Linked DNA regions of Homo sapiens: region 1 is linked to region 2. The links are contacts of gene promoters, found by promoter capture Hi-C in blood cells and fetal thymus (Javierre and others, 2016). All regions are on one chromosome and are shown on one strand. The core of a region is centred on a gene start or on the middle of the fragment in contact, and the rest is flanking DNA. Distances in the headings are between cores, read along the strand shown. Region 1 overlaps WAPL-DT (WAPL divergent transcript). Region 2 holds the start of MMRN2 (multimerin 2).

The links. Contacts are between HindIII fragments. The CHiCAGO score rates a contact against its expected background, and 5 or more counts as called.
Region 1: a fragment that was not itself captured here is called in contact with the fragment with the promoter of MMRN2 in region 2 in 2 of 17 cell types (naive CD8 T cells and naive CD4 T cells); the score reaches 5.2 in naive CD8 T cells.

The regions. Positions count from the first base shown.
Region 1 is chr10:86,524,276-86,526,975 of GRCh38, reverse strand. WAPL-DT (WAPL divergent transcript) reads right to left here. Exons shown (of 2, transcript NR_186498.1): 2 at 1,875-2,700. Among named protein-coding and RNA genes, the nearest start is that of WAPL-DT, 3.7 kb to the right of the region's middle. The HindIII fragment of the contact is 2,960 bases long and covers 1-2,700 here.
Region 2 is chr10:86,956,319-86,959,018 of GRCh38, reverse strand. MMRN2 (multimerin 2) reads left to right here and starts at 1,404. Exons shown (of 7, transcript NM_024756.3): 1 at 1,404-1,641. The coding sequence starts at 1,478. SNCG (synuclein gamma) reads right to left here and starts at 420. Exons shown (of 5, transcript NM_003087.3): 1 at 201-420. The coding sequence starts at 321. RefSeq lists an enhancer at 1-130. The HindIII fragment of the contact is 12,184 bases long and covers 1-2,700 here.

The DNA of each region.
Region 1 (2,700 bases), core at 13-2,512, 430 kb after region 2:
ATACAGGGTGCTGGATGACCTTAAATAGCATGGCCAAGGAAAACATTACTGAGAGACACACTTGAGCAAAGACCTGAAAGCATGCAGGGAATGAGTTGTGTGTGTCTCTTGAGGACTAACAGAGGGAACAAGTACGAAGAGGGCCCACAGGCAGGAGCTGGCTTGGCATGTTCTAGTAGTAGACAGAGGCAGGCCCGGCAAGGTAGGAAGGGATAGGAGTACTCAGGGGCCAGATCATGCAGGGCCTTTTCACCGTTAAGAACTTTGGATTTTAGTATTACAGGAGGACCCTTCAGGGTGTTTGACTAGGCGGGTATCATACAGTATTAAGGGTGAGGATCCTGAATAAAAAAGGGCTGTTTCCAGGACAAGGGTCAGGAAGCCAGACTTCTTCGAGGTTGCTTGTACCGGTCCTTGTCAGGCAATGTGCTCCTAGAGAATTTCCTTTGCTTTGTGTTTCATCTACCTAGACAGCAGTGTATTCCCCAGAGGACGTCACTATCTCCAGAGAACATATTCCAATTATCCTGGGAAATATGATAATTGGGATTATAACAGTACTCATTTTCTCAATTCTCAGAATGAAAACCTATCCAAGGCAAGAACAAAAGTTCTCCAGAAAGCACTCCCCTCCCAATTGTGAAAACCCAGTTAACATTTTATTAGAGCTACCAGGTTATGTGAAACTGTTGATAGTTTTATCACTTTCCTTTCAAGATATAGGCAGGGGCAGTGGCTCATGCCTGTAATTCCAGCACTTTGGGAGGCCAAGGTAGGTGGATGGCTTGAGCCCAGAAGTTCAAGACCAGCCTGGGCAACAAGGTGAAACCCTATCTCTACCAAAAATACAAAAATTAGTGGGGCATGATAGCATGGACATGTAGTCCCAGCTACTTGGGAGGCTGAGGTGGGAGGATGGCTTGAACCCTGGAGGTGGAGGTTGCAGTGATTGGAGATCGTGCCACTACATTCCAGCCTGGGCGACAGAGCAAGACTCTGTCACCAAAAAAAAAAAAAAAAAAAAAAAAAAAAAATGTGGCCAGGCATGGTAGCTCACACCTGTAATCCCAGCACTTTGGGAGGCTGAGCCAGGCGGATCACAAGGTCAAGAGATCGAAACCATCCTGGCCAACATGCAAAACACCATCTCTACTAAAATACAAAAAATGAGCTGGGTGTGGTGGTGTGCGCCTGTAGTCCCAGCTACTGGGGAGGCTGAGGCAGGGGAATCGCTTGAACCAGGGAGGCAGAGATTGCAGTGAGCCGAGATCGCGCCACTGCACTCCAGCCTGGTGACAGAGCGAGACTCCGTCTAAAAAAAAAAAAAAAAAAATATATATATATATATATATAATATATGTATATAATTTTACATGAAAGAAGGAAATAAATGGGTGCTTTTATTCAACAAATATTTATTGAGCACCTACTCTTGTGCCAGGCAGTCTTCTAGGTGCTAGGGTTGCAGCAGAAAACAAGACAGGCAGAGATCCCTGCCTTCAGAGGGAGCACAACATTTAAGATAAACATGCAAAATGCCTGATATGTTAGATGGGAAGATAAATGCCCTTAAAGAAAGTAAAGCAGGGACAGTGACATTTAGGAGTGAGGATGTTGCAACAATTTAAGATAGGTTGGTCAGGGGAGATTCATTGAAAAGTCCCATCTGAGTGAAAACCTAGAGGAGAGAATTGAAGCAGGCTGGTATCTGGGGGAGTTGTAGGCAGAGGGAATAGGAAATACAAAGGCCCTAAGGTGGGGAAACAGCAAGGAGTCAGGTGTGGGCAGAGCAGAAAGTTGGGGCTGCATGAGCAAAGGGCAGGGCCTGGCCCACATCTCGTAGAGCTTTGTAATATAACCACAACATGCAAGTGTACAATTTAACATTTTATTCCACATCCGATGGCAAAGAAAAATTGACTGCTACCAATATGGTAGTTTCTGACCTGTAGTTCCCTAAATAGAATTCTATAAGTTGTAATACACTTTACTACACATTATCAGAAAAAGACTAAAAGTTCTATTTAGTAACTCCAATTCTGACAGTTCTCATGTCTGGGCTAGAACAAGGGCATGGCAATGGCAGAACAGATGTCTTCTATTTTCTTTGCAGGATTTTCTTTTTTCAGAGGAAAGTACAGGTATGGGCCCACTCAAGTGGAGCTCCAGGTTAGGGGGTTCTGTCCTCACCCAGGCAGCACACAGGAGGGCAGAGGCCCCTCCTAAGGGTACTACAAACTTGGCTCTGATCCATGATTTCAGTTTCTGACAAACACAACATTCAGTGGGGGAAAGAAAATCAGGTATCTGAGAGCTTGCACACAGGCATTCTAGCAAAACCAAAAGCACCTACTGGCTACTTGATGTTAGTGTGAAGATTCTCATGAAATGGAGACAACCATTCTAGGGGTTGAGGTGGCCAGGGGGATGGAGCCTGAGCTGAGAGAACTAAGAAAACAAAAACAATACAACAAAAAGCTGTTCAGCCATGTGTTACCCACACTGGAGTTCTGTTTGCTCATTCTGGTGTGGAACCCAGGGCCCTGGTAAGGGAATGAGGGGACTTCAGGGCATTTGCTTGCCTCAGTGGAAGCAGGGAGGTAAGGGGTTAAGGTGGTGGTACAGCCTGCAGGGCCAGGAGTCTGAACTCCCTCCAGGAGGGGCCCGAGGGGTGTCTTTAGTGTGAGCCACACAAGGGTA
Region 2 (2,700 bases), core at 155-2,654:
CGAGGAGGCCAAAGACAAACACACATAGGTGTGCACAGGGCATTGTGGGTGCTCCAGGGTCTGGAGACCCCACCTTGATAGCCAGGGCCTCGCCCCCTCCCAAAATGCCTCCCTGGGGCTGGGGAGTAAGGTCTGGCGAAGGTAACTGGGCACTCACCCTTTGGCCACCACACTGTCCCACCCTGCCATGCCCCACTTACCCACATACATGACCCCCTCCTTGGTCTTCTCAGCTGCTTCCGTCACCCCCTGCTTGGTCTTTTCCACCGCACCCACCACGCCCTCCTTGGCGATGGAGAAGCCCTTCTTGAAGACATCCATGGTGGGTGTGCAGGGTTGTGCTGCTGCAGGCAGGACGGAGCTGGATCTCCCTGCGAGCTGCGGGCTTGAGCTGGCTCGAGTGCTGCCGCAGCGGCTGTCCCCGATGCCTCCTATTGACGCCGATGAAATATTGATGCGGAGGCCAGCTGGAGCCCAGCCAGCCCTGCGTGCAGTGGGGGCGGGGAGGGAGGGAGGGAGGGAAGGAGGTTCAGCCTCACCTTCCTCCAGGATAGGAAGGCAGAGACCAGGCTCCCTGGGCTCCTGCTGGCTCAGCCCAGCTCTCCTGCCCCGTGCCCTCCATGGGCTGGAGGGGGCTGGCCACCTCCCAACCTGTCCCTCATTCATTTACTGCCCTGCCCACCCATGGGGGCAGCCCTGGCTGGGTGCTCTTGGCCCCAGGGGTGCTGTGTCTATGCTGCACCTGGACAGACAGGCACAGAGAGGGGAGGCGCCTTGGCCATTGTCCCCAGCTTCCTAGGTAGGGGTCAGGGCCACATAGGCCTGTTAGGTGAGAGCAGCCAACCTCCCGCGGCCTGGGCTGTGCAGCTACCCACCAGCATCCTGGATGCCGCTGGACCCTGGGCTGCCATGAAACCGGTTGGAGGATCTGAGGTGGGTGGGGGTGGGGAAATGAAGGACTTCCTCATGCCTTGGCCTCTGGCTGCATGCTGTGTGACCCCAGAATAGTCCCTTCCCTTCTTTGAGCCGCCCAGTGCTGAAGGTGCTGAGGAGGCATGAATTGCCCCCCATTTCCTGGCCAGCAGTGTGGATGGGCAGCAGGTCCCCTGAGATGGACCTGACCACTTCCTGTGGCCCCACCTCGAAGTCCACGCTCTTTTCATGGCTCCCAGGGAGCAGGTTCCCATAAGGATGCATTTGGTGGGGCCACCCCATGTCTACCACATTCCCAGAGTCCCTGAGCCAAGTCCTCAGGGACAGGAACTGGCTTGTGTGGTTGGCGGCCCCTGTGGGGCCAGCCAGGGTAGTTGGGGGGCAGGACAAGACCCACCGGGTAGGCCGGCCCAGGCCACTTCCTCTCTTTGTTGTCCTCGTATTTTCTTTTCCTCCTGAGATTTAACTTGAAGACAACGTCACTAGCAGTTTCTGGAGCTACTTGCCAAGGCTGAGTGTGAGCTGAGCCTGCCCCACCACCAAGATGATCCTGAGCTTGCTGTTCAGCCTTGGGGGCCCCCTGGGCTGGGGGCTGCTGGGGGCATGGGCCCAGGCTTCCAGTACTAGCCTCTCTGATCTGCAGAGCTCCAGGACACCTGGGGTCTGGAAGGCAGAGGCTGAGGACACCGGCAAGGACCCCGTAGGACGGTAAGAGGGCCTGGACCTTGGCAGAGGTCATGGAGTAGGATCTGAGTCCCAGCTCAGCTAGAGCAGAGCCTCTCTAGACCTCACTGGGGTCCCATCTGTGAAATGGGCTAATAGTATCTATCTCTGGGCCATCTGTGAGGCTGAAAAAGTAGTCTGGACTGGGTGTTTCAGGATCCACCTAAGAATTGCAGGGAGTTCCCTGTCGGAGCCATGGCAGGGAATGGGGCTTGGGGGGCTGGCAGGGAGGCACAGCTCCTACCATCAATCACCCAGCATGGGGCACTGGGGGACTGTGGCTGAAGCCATTGCCAGCTGGCCTGGCTATGCCTCCTGTTCTTCCAAAGAAATCAATTCTGAAAGCTGAGACCCAGCAAGGCTGCCCTGAGATTTTGATCTGAGTTCCCTGGGGACCTGACTCTGACTGCCCAGCAGTGAGCAGAGACGGCCCCCTGCTCTCCAGAGCACAGTCCAGGGCGCTCTGCCTCAGCGACCCAGCAAGTGGGCAGGATGGTCTTGCAACTGGACCCAGAACATAGCTTTCCAACATTCTATGTGTACAGAGCCAGGGCCCATCCTGCTGATGAGGTGTTGGGCCTGTAAGTCCCCCCTCATCTCCAACTGCCCCTCAGTCAGAGCAGCAGGTGCTGTTTACGGGGCCCCCAGTCTCAGGGCCAGGCACCTTGCCACGTGTATCTCAGTTCATCCCTCCAACAGCCCCACTTACAGAGGAGGAGCCTGAGGCTCAGAGAGGCTGAGGGGCTTGCCCAAGGCCACACAGCTAAGGAGCAGGATCTGAGTTTGACTTCAGAGCTCATAGTGAACTCTCTGCAGCACTTGGAGCCAGCCCCAGCCCCCAGATGCTCCTACCTCCACCCTCCTGCCCCCACACACCAGACCTGTTTGGCTAAGGGCATCTACATGGATTTAGGGAGTGAGGGGGGGGCCAACTTACACTTCTGTGCGGTGTATGAGAGCCACCATCGCAGAGCGGACCTGCCTGGGATAGGTCTCATTTGGCTTCTGAGTTGCAGGTTTGTTGGGTGCTTTCCTGAAAACAGA